Regions from separate parts of the Homo sapiens genome. Here region 2 is linked to region 1. Evidence: promoter capture Hi-C in 16 types of primary human blood cells and fetal thymus (Javierre and others, 2016). All regions are on one chromosome and are shown on one strand. Each heading gives the region's core, a stretch centred on a gene start or on the middle of the fragment in contact. The rest is flanking DNA. Distances are from core to core; before and after follow the strand shown. Region 1 holds the start of HIPK3 (homeodomain interacting protein kinase 3). Region 2 overlaps LOC101929918 (a long non-coding RNA gene).

Region 1 (5,406 bases), core at 834-3,333:
TCAGTCATATTTTGTTTACTTAAAATACTAAGTTTAATCATGACCTATCTAAACCTTATCATTGCTCATTGTATAAAATTAGCACTGCACTTGCAAACATAAGCAGAATCTAGACTTATCAAACATATGGTGAGACTTCACCAGCTTCTGAAAAATTAAATAATATAGGATTAAAATGTCTTAGTTGGGTAAGCAGTAACCACCGTTACGGCTCAAGACTTTTCATCAAAAATTTGATCAGAAAGGAAACCTCTTTAAAAATTTTAAAGAGCCCAGCAACTAAAACTTTGAAATTAACTGAGATGGTTTGAATGAATATAAGTACTCCCACTTCAGAAGCTACAGCTAAAAGCAAATACCTAAAATAGCAAAAAGGGAAAAAGTGTCAGCAGATCTCCAAACTACTAGAAAGTACGCAAAAGCACACGCAGACTGGTTTGCCAGCTAACTTTTCCGGCCCTGTACCAGACAGACATCAAAACAAAGTTTACAATAGAGCCAACCATGCGCTTTCCCTCTAAACTGGACGATAAACTGAAATTTTTTGCTGTTGCTAATAGAAGCCCCTTATTATAATTAGAAGCAGCCAACTGACAGGTGGAAAAACAAATTCCCTAACAGGGCAGTAAGAGGTTGTGAAAACACGGTTCAAGGCCTGAACGTGTTACGACTACTCTGTAACAAGTCCAAGGTAATTTACGCACACACTCTTCAGCGCAATTCCTCAAGCAGAGATGAGACGGGAACAACAGGATTCCCCGAGAGCCACATACCATTTTACAACAGCCGTCTCCCTCCCGACAGAGAAACAGACATTTTCATCCAAAGTCTTTCCGCCAGTTCTCCCAGTGCGGCGAAGGGAAGCGGGCGGCAGCCACCGTAACGAGAGAAGCCGGCAACAGCCCCGCCGCGCGGCCGCCACGCCTTCCTCCCGCCGCCGCTGGGGACGCGGAGCCGCGGATCACATTTCTCCTCCCCAACAATCACACACACGCACGCACGTCCCCAGAGTTGACACCCTGCAAACCCGCTGCTCCGCGACGCTGGGGACGGGGCCACAAAGCCCGGGACGCGGCCATCGGCTGGGGTGCTCAAGCTGCGTGCCTGCGCGTTTGTTTGTTCCCCTTAATGAAAGGAAAGGGATCTCCGTAGTTACGGCCTAGGACTGCGGAGGGGGAAGAGAGGCTCCCCGTGGGACTAAACAAAACTTCGGTTGCTGGGAAGAGCCGTTGCGCAACCTTGGCAGGGGGAGGGGGGGCCGAGGCCCCCGGGCCCCGGCCAGGCGCGGCTTCCCGGAGGCTACGGCCCCCGCGTCCGGCGGCCCAGGGCCTGGCGTGGCGCCGGCTTCGAGGGAGCGGCTCATACCGGGCCACACTGCAGGGGCTAGGGCGGAAACTGGGAGCACGAGAGCGCTGGGGATGCGGATGGGGCACGGGACGCGCAATGAGTGCGGGCTGCGCCGGAGGTGTCGGGCCAGGCCCGGGTCAGGCTTGGGGTCCGCTGGCCGCGGAGCCCGCAGACGGAGCCGATCCCCCCACCCCGGGGTGGCGGCGCCCCTCGCTCGACTCCCTTACCTTCCTAGAGGCCCGCGCTCTCTCCTCTTCGGGCGGCCGCAGCCCTGAGCATGTCCGGGGTGGGGCGCAGGGCCGTGCCGGGGACCGGGAGCCAGGCGCTTCAGCAGGCGGCACCACCCAGCCCGGGCTCAGCCCCTCTCCGCGGCCGCTGCCATCTTGTCCTGGCGGCTGAGAGGAAACGGCGAAACACCCTCCCCCGACCGCTGCTGCTGCTGCTGCTGCTCTGGCTGCTAAGCGCCGGGCCCGTCTCCCTCATCTTCCTTCCCGGGGATTTGGGGTGGGGACGGCTTGGCTAGGGCGAGGGGTAGTGGGAGGCCGGTCGGCCTCCGGCTACTGGGGCCTACGGGCGACGCAGGGTGCGGGGCCCACGGCGATTGGGGCCCATTCCTGACGCCCCGGCCGGGAGCGGAGAAGGAAGACTGGCGGGAGTGGTGGCGACGGCGGGGCCTGCGGCTTGATCTCCTCAGGTCGCCGCGATGCCGGCAGTCGTCACTGAGGCAGCTGCCACCAGCCGCCCCAGCCTCGGGCCCCTCCTCCGCGCTCGTCGGCCTCGGCCACCGCCTCCGCAGCGCCACCGCCCGCCCGGCAGCGCTGCGCGCCCAGCCCGGGCGGCTCCGCTCCGCTCCGGCCGCGGCGCCTCCGTGAAGCCCCTCCCCGGGGTCCGCCCGCCAGTCCGCAGCCGCGCCCTTGTTGCCCGGAGCCCGCCTGCCAGCCCGTGCGGCCCCAACCCGGAGTCCCGCAAGCCAAGCCTCCCGCGAAAGAAGCATCCGTCAGCCCGGCTCTGCTGTTCTGAACCTCACTCCATGCCCCCTCCGCCAGAAATACACATTTTTAAAAAAGATCCCAATACCCGAAGAAAGGATGAAGATGCGGAAGCAGGATTTTACAGGCCTTTCGAGATCCCGGAACCGTAATTAAGGATCTGTTTCTCGGCATTTGGTCGTTAAAGGTCCCAAAATAAGTAAAGGGGAAATGCTCAAATGAACGACCTCAATCTAAACTAGGTTCTACCCGCTCCCCTATCCCAAAGAGTGAAGAGAATTGTAAAGCCAGGTTCAAGGACGGGGGAAGGGTCCTCTTGGAAATTTTAAGAGCATCTCTACTGTCCAAAACCCCATAATTGTGAAGTTCGCCCACCTCCACATTGGTAATTCTCCGTTAAATTAGTCGGTTTAACTCCCAAAGACTAGTTTCTTTCCTCCTGGAGATTAGGAAATCAACAGAATGGCCTGTTTCAGCTTACATAATCGTGGAACCATAGAATTTTAGGAATGAAAGAAGCTTTGCGATCCTTGGTCCCAACTCTTACACTCAGGAGTTCCAAGAAGTTTAGGTGACATGACCAAGGTTATACAGTAAAGCCCATGTCTCCCACCCCATCTTTCCTCCTTTTCCCTAGGAAACAAATGGCTTTCTAATACCTCACATTCAGAGTTGATTTTCTTTTATACCCGTTTCCTCAGGTTCCCTTTGTTCTGAATCAATGTCTAACCTTTTGGGAAACAAACACCTTTCTGGAATGGAAGTGTCCTTTCTTTGTTTCCTTCATAATCTTCACTAGCAAGATTGAATTTACCAGAGATGTATTTATTCCCAGAAATTTTCTATTGCAGTAACTGGGGCAGGGCAAAGGGAGTGGCAAATTGCTGCATACATAATACACATTTAATCCCTGCTGCTCTTCAAACCGGAAGATGAGTATTTTGGATAATGCCTTTAAGAGACAAAGGAGGCCGGGCGCGGTGGCTCGCACATGTAATCCCAGCACTTTGGGAGGCTGAGGCGGGTGGATCACCTGTGGTCAGGAGTTCAAGACCAGCCTGGCCAACATAGTGAAACCTGGTCTCTACTAAAAATGCAAAAATTAGCTGGGCGTGGTGGCGGGCGCCTGTAATCCCAGCTACTCGAGAGCTGAGGTAAGAGAATCGCTTGAATCGCTTGAGCCACTGCACTCCAACCTGGGCGACAGGGAGAGACTCTGTCTCAAAAAATAAAATAAAAGAGAAAGGATAGTATGCCCTGAGGCCACTGGAAATAACACTTTCGAATGACAGTTGTTTTCAGGTTAGAGAGGATAACCAGCTGAAAAGGCTTCCAATATAGAAGAACAAAACAATGGCTGCCTTTCAGAGAGATAGCCTATGAACCATTCCTTTTCACTTAGTATTTCGTTACTTTTTATTTTTCTTAAGAACAATAGTCAAAAGAATCAAAGAGGATAAAATCATTTACTCAACGGAGAAAGCTACAATAGTAGAAAAATCTGTCAGGAGGAACAGAGAAACTATTCCACTAGAACTTCAAATTTCAGAATTTTTGCAGACATTTAAGGAGGCCATCTCTAATGGAAGGCTTCCATTCCCTGTATTTGCTACATCCATGAAGAGATGGAAATGAGAGACAAGGATTTATTTTCCTTTCTATCTCCTGCATGTTGCTACTCACTACACTATATATTCCAGGAGGGGATTCATTCATCTTTTTTTTTTTTTAGATGAAGTCTCGCTCTATTGCCAGGGTTCAAGCAATTCTCCTGCTTCAGCCTCCCGAATAGCTGAGACTACAGGCATGCCCCACCATACCCAGCTAATTTTTGTACTTTTAGCAGAGACGGGGTTTTACCATGTTGGCCAGGATGGTCTCGATCCCTTGACCTCGTGCTCTGTCCACCTCAGCCTCCCAAAGTGTTGGGATTACAGGCATGAGCCACCACGCCCGGCCTCATCTTTTTTTTTAACCATTATATTGCAAGTGCCTAATACAGTGCCTGACTTGTGGTAAGACCTTAGTAAATGTTGCAAAATAAGTAAATGATATATTCCAGCCCCCCTTCACTTTATACCTATTGTCTCCTAACCTAATTTCTTTACCTCTAATCTCTTCCCCTTCAAATCTTTCTTTTTTTGAGGCACGATATCAGCTCCTCTGCCTCCCAGGTTCAGGCGATTCTCCTGCCTCAGCCTCCCAAGTAGCTGGGACTGCAACTTCCGCCTCCCAGGTTCAGGCGATTCTCCTGCCTCAGCCTCCCAAGTAGCTGGGACTACAGGCCCGTGCCACCACGCCCAGCTAATTTTTTGTATTTGTAGTAGAGATGGGGTTTCACCATGTTAGCCAGGATGGTCTTGATCTCCTGACCTGACAGAGTCTAATTTTGTCACCCAGGCTGGAGCACAGTGGTGTGATCTCCATTCACCACAGCCTCAACTCCCTGGGCTCAAGGGATCCATCCACCTCAGCCTCCCACCTAACTGGGATTACAGACACGCACCACCACAGCCAGCTATTTTTTTTTTATTTTTAGTATGGAGATGCGGTTTCATTATGTTGGCCAGACTGGTCTGGAACTCCTGGCCTCAAGTGATCCGCCCACCTCAGCCTCCCAAAAGTGCTGGGATTTCAGGTGTGAGCCACTGCGCCTGGCTTTCAAATCTATTCTGAACACAAACATCTAGATAATCTCCCAAAGCCCCTAATGTAGCTATTTTACAAAGTTTGAGGGTTGTTTTTTTTTTTTAAGGAAAATTTCTCATAGTGCTAAGATCTCTCAAAAATGCAGGCTGGGGGAGGGCATGGTAGCTCACATCTGTAATCCCAGCACTTTGGGAAGCTGAGGTTGGGGGATTGCTTGAGCCCATGAGTTCCAGGCTGCAGTGAGCTGTGATTTCGCCACTGCACTCCAGGCTAAGTGACAGAGCAAGATCTTGCCTCTAAAAAATAAAACAGGAAGATACTAAAGAAAACCTTAATGTTTTCATTCAAAAAAATTACTTAAGGGCCAGACTTGGTGGCTCACACCTGTAATTCTATCACTGAGCAAGACCTAGCCTCTTCA
Region 2 (5,406 bases), core at 1,576-4,075, 790 kb before region 1:
AATTCCAACACTTTGGGAAGCCAAGGCTGGCAGATCACTTGAGGTCAGGAGTTCGAGACCAGCCTGGCCAATATGGCAAATCCTGTCTCTACTAAAAATACAAAAAAATTTGCTGGGTGTGGTGGCGCATGCCTGTAATTACAGCTGCTCAGGAGGTTGAGGCACGAGAACCCGGGAGGCAGAGGCTGCAGTGAGCCAAGATTGTGCCACTGCATTCCAGCCTAAGCAACAGAGTGAGACTGTCTCAAAAAACAAAAAACAACTGCAAATGGTACACATCCATCACAGTTCAACAGAGGGCCCTGTTCGTAGTAGTCACTCAGTAGATTCATGCTGATGCCATATCTCAAGTGTTGCTGATCACTGTACCACAAGAGAACTCAGGAATATCTCAGTCAATTAAATGCTTTAGACAAGTAGATATGCATCACATCTGCTTAAATTCATTGGCCAAAAAGAGTCACATGACCCTATCCAACTATAAGGGAGTCAAGAGATGGTATTCTATCAGATGCCGGGTAGGAAGCAGATGAGCCAGAAATATTTGGTGAATATATGAAGCTGTCACGCTTTCACTTCCTATATCATCCCAATCCCATTTCATTGGTGTTCTGACATTCTGCGTTTGTCTGTTCAGGTCAGCAAGTCCAGAAAGACCAATAAATTTAAGGCAAAGCTGTGTCCTAAAGCTCACTTCCTGCCCAGATCAATGCCAAGGTCTCAGTCATTCAAATTTGTGTATTTCCTACTTGACTGAAGCTATGTTTATGTGAATTTTAAATACTCATTTTTTAAACCCTTTTTTCTAGTACAGAGCTATGCAGTAACTTGCAGTCATTGCATCATTGAAGAAATAAAGGGTTCCCAGAAAACACACTGGAGGAGCAGAATATGTTTATAAATGGTTTATAAATTTAAAAACCTTGGTATACTTTAATATATGCCAATATTAAATATATTAACATAAAGCAAATACAACAATATGCAAAATAATATATTTCAATAACAAATCTTTCAAGCTGACATTTGCTTGTTCAATTCATTAGACCACAGCACTTTGAAGTTTCCACAAAGTGAATAATTAAACTATTTATCCTGATCATTTTAGCAAAATAATTCAACTGCTTGAACTTGAGTCACCCAATAAGCTAATGCTTATTTGTAGCAAAAGAGAGGAATCTTCATCTGAATTATATGAACTGCCTCTTTGTTTCAGGTTGACAGAAACCTGACCAAAGTGTGAACTACACTGTTCACATAGCTAAGGCTCTTAAAGTTTCTTAAATTTGTTTTTCCATCATTTTACTACAAGTCAGGAGTAGACATTTCTATCATAATTTTTCCAGTACAGTCTTTTTTATTGTAATTCAATCAATGATTGTCTATGTGTCCATGAACCACCACTAAACTCTAAGCTTTTCAAAGAAAAAGAGCAGTCGTTTTGTTTTTCCATCTCTGGATCCTCATAAGCAATAGCATGCCTGGCACAACTATTTTGTCACTAAGTATTGCCTACTGTATTAACATATCAGTACGGTTTTAATATTATTATTACTATTGGTCCATACTGTCTCTGAATTCTTACATTTTGGTCATCAGCTGAGATAACATCCTTTTCCGCTTATATTTTCCTATGTCCACCTTTTCTTGCGTGTAATATTATGCTTAGAAACAGGACTTCATGTTTTGTAGAGGTACAATATGTTCAGAATAGTTATTTCAGATTTCACGAAATACTGTTGTTTGTTATTGAACACTCTTAGAAGCTACACACTTTACTCAATGTAAAAGTAAACACAGTGGTATGTGCTTGAAATCCCAGCTACTCGGGAGGCTGAAATGAGAGCATTAGTTGAGCCCAGTAGTTCGAGGATGCAATATCATGTCACTACACTCCAGCGTGGACAACAGAGTAAAACCCAGCATCTAAAAAATAAAAATTTTATTTTTATTTTATTTTATTTATTTATTTTTTTGAGATGGAGTATCATTCTGTCGCCCAGGCTGGAGTGCAGTGGCAAGATCTCAGCTCATTGCAATCTCTACCTCCTGGGTTCAAGTGGTTCTCCTGCCTCAGCCTCCCGAGTAGCTGGGATTACAGGTGCATGCCATCATGCCCGACTAATTTTTGTATTTTTGGTAGAGACAGGATTTCACCATGTTGGCCAGGCTGGCCTCAAATTCCTGAGTTCAGGCAACCCACCTGCCTTGGCCTCCCAAAGAGCTGGGATTACAGGCCTGAGCCACTGCGCCCAGCCTAAAAATAAAAATGTTTTAAAAGCAAAAACACCTTGGCCACAGGTACTAAAATCTTTCATATAGTTACTTATATGAATTGTATGTTGTCTTAACATCATGTTTCTATTTCAGTGGTTCCCAACCTGTGGTGATTTTGTCCCTCGGGGACACTTGATTTAAAGGTCTCCTAAGCACCAAATCACTAGCAATGTCTAGAAGTATTTAGTTGTCACAACTTGAGGGGAAGATGTTAATTGCATCCAGTTTGTAGAGGCCAAAGATGCTTCTAAACATCTTACAATGCACAAAACAACACACAATTATTCAGACCAAAACATCAATAATGCCGAGTTTGGGAAATGCTGTTCTATTTTATGAGATAAAAGATGTAGTCACTGGCCAGGCACGGTGGCTCATGCTTGTAATTCCAGCACTTTGGGAGGCCAAGGCAGACGGATCACCCAAGGTCAGGAGTTCGAGACCAGCCTGGCCAACATGGTGAAACCCTGTTTCTACTAAAAATACAAAAATTAGCCGGGCATGGTGGCGGGTGCCTGTAATCCCAGCTACTCAGGAGGCTGAGGAAGGAGAATCACTTGAACCTGGGAGGCAGAGGTTGCAGTGAACCAAGATTGCGCCACTGCACTCCAGCCTGGGTGACAGGGCAAGACTCTATCTCAAAAAACAAAACAAAAAAGTAGTCACTTGTTCTAGCACTTTACAAGTAAAGCTACTCTGATGACACTGGCGCCCCAAATTAAAAATGCCTTTAGAAATGCCTTATTGAGGTGGCTCACGCCTGTAATCCCAGCACTTTGGGAGGCTAAGGTGGGTGGATCACCTGAGGTCAGGAGTTTGAGACCAGTCTGGCTAACGTGGCGAAACCCCGTCTCTACTAAAAAAAATGTAAAAATTAGGCGGGTATGGTGGTGCATGCCTGTAATCCTAGCTACTCAGGAGGCTGAGGCAGGAGAATCACTTGAACCCAGGAAGCGGAGGTTGCAGTGAGCTGAGATCACGGCACTGCACTCCAGCCTGGGCAACAGAGCAAGACTCTGTCTCAAAAAAAAAAAAAAAAAAAAGGAAGAAAGAAAGAAGGGGGGTGGGGCGCGGGTGGGGGAGAGAGAGAGAGAGAAAGAGAAAGAAAGAAAGAGAAAAAGGGGGGAGCGTGGAGGGGGGAGAGAGACAGGAAGGAAGGAAGGAAGGAAGGAAGGAAGGAAGGAAGGAAGGAAGGAAAAGAAAAAAAAGAGAACTAACTGCATTATGCATGTTGCCAAGATGCAAGCTGATCTGTTCGTAGGGTGATCTTGCATCTTGGCAATATGAATAATCATGGTCATTTCAGGCAATAAAGTATTCTGTGTATCAATTCCCCTACTAATACATACAACCACTGTGAACAATAATTTGAGAAAAATAACTTCCTTCAAGGTAACAACTAACTGCTCCATGAATTTTGGAAGGAATAAAACTTTATGTATCTCAGTTAATACATACTAGGGGAATATAAGTATAGAAGTAATCAGCTTATTCAAGATTGTTCCTATAGCTGGTCAGGATAGTATTATTTCAAGAATAATTTTCACACCTAACAGCACAACTCCCCCTATATTAATGGTTTACTCTTTGTGTGTTGATAACTTGTTTATCTTGAGAGCCTGAGAACTTGATTTAAAGGTCTCCTAAGCACCAAATCACTAGAGATGTGAAAAATGTCATGAGAAGATGTAGGTCCTGTGTTTGTTTTTTTCTTGCATAGATTTTCAGTGGATGTAGAATTTGCAAAGGAGAGAGCCCTACCCCCCACACCCCAATTCTCGTCTTTGATGCAGTGCTTCCCAAAGTAGGCAAGGACCACCAATTTCCAAATGACCTGGGGTACTTGTCAAAATGAAAATTCCTAGACTCCCCCCCAGACATTGCCTCTACATCCCAGAATCTGAAACCTAGGAACATCCATTTAAAAAACGAAACTCCCCTTTGCACATTCAAGCTTGTGAATCTCTGCTCTATAGACGTAGAGTGTACATGCTACTCATTTTCACAAAAATAAGTGCCAAAAATGTTCAAAAACATCTTCTTTTCATGGTATCTTCCTATCTTTCCTCCCAGGTAGTGCTGTGACAGTGTCTTAAGTAGGGCATGTTGATAGATGGAAAAGGACGGCAAACTCGAGGTGCTGATTCAGGAAGAAGCAGATTCCAAGATGGAAGAGAAAATATCGAGAGAAATATGCCGAGAGAAGAATCCAGGCAGAATGGAATCCAGGCAGAATGGTGAATGGAAGGTTCGGGTGACCAAGAGAAAGGAAGGGTGACTCAGCAAGTCTGTAGTTTCAGCTCTTGTATAGTACGTTATACTTGAAAAGCTGAAGCCTTTTCTCGGGGAAGAGTCAGAACGGCCTGGAGGGCTTGCTAAAGCGCTGCTGGCTGGGCCCCGCCCGCTGAATGACTAATGGAGACTCTGAGGGCCGGCTGGTAATTTGAGTTTCTAACAAGCCCTGTTTCGATGCTGGTACAGCCGATCTAGGGAAAATATTGGAACAAGGAAAAAACTAAGAAGAAATTTTAAAAAGTAATCAAAGGCGGCCAAGTGAGGTGGCTCACGCCTGTGATCCTAGCGCTTTGGGAGGCCGAGGCGGGCAGATATCTGAGGTCAGGGGTTTGAAGACCAACATGGAGAAACCACGTCTCTACTAGAAATACGAAAACTAGCCAGGCGTGGTGGCTAATGCCTGTAATCCTAACTAGTCAGGAGGCTGAGGCAGAGGAGTCGCTTGAACCCAGGAGGGGGAGGTTGCAGTGAGCCGAGATCGCGCCACTGCACTCCAGCCTGGGCAACAAAGACTCCATCTCAAAAAAAAAAAAAAAAGTAATAAAAAATGACAGTAGTGTACTGTAATATGTATGTTTTCTGCTGCTACTTTTTGTTTTGCATTTTCCTCTTAAAGAGACCAGAAGATGGCTGGGCTCAGTGGCTCATGCCTGTAATCCCAGCACTTTGGGAGGCCGAGGCAGGTGGATCACCTGAGGTCAGGAGTTTGAGACCAGCCTGGCCAATATGATGAAACCCTGTCTCTACCAAAAATACAAAAATTAGCCAGGCGTGGTGGCAGGCGCCTGTAATCCCAGCTACTCGGGAGGCTGAGGCAGGAGAACGGTTTGAACC

The links. The method cuts DNA at HindIII sites, captures the fragments that hold promoters and counts their contacts. A CHiCAGO score of 5 or more calls a contact.
Region 2: a fragment that was not itself captured here is called in contact with the fragment with the promoter of HIPK3 in region 1 in 1 of 17 cell types (monocytes); the score reaches 5.2 in monocytes.

What each region holds. Positions count from the first base shown.
Region 1 is chr11:33,254,058-33,259,463 of GRCh38, reverse strand. It overlaps HIPK3 (homeodomain interacting protein kinase 3), which reads right to left and starts at 2,083. Exons shown (of 17, transcript NM_005734.5): 1 at 1,575-2,083. RefSeq lists enhancers at 609-698, 739-788 and silencers at 1,129-1,328, 1,399-1,738, 1,999-2,328. The HindIII fragment of the contact is 4,438 bases long and covers 1-2,857 here.
Region 2 is chr11:34,044,320-34,049,725 of GRCh38, reverse strand. It overlaps LOC101929918 (a long non-coding RNA gene), which reads left to right. Exons shown (of 3, transcript XR_931177.3): 3 at 4,351-5,139. Among named protein-coding and RNA genes, the nearest start is that of CAPRIN1, 4.7 kb to the left of the region's middle. The HindIII fragment of the contact is 2,816 bases long and covers 1,418-4,233 here.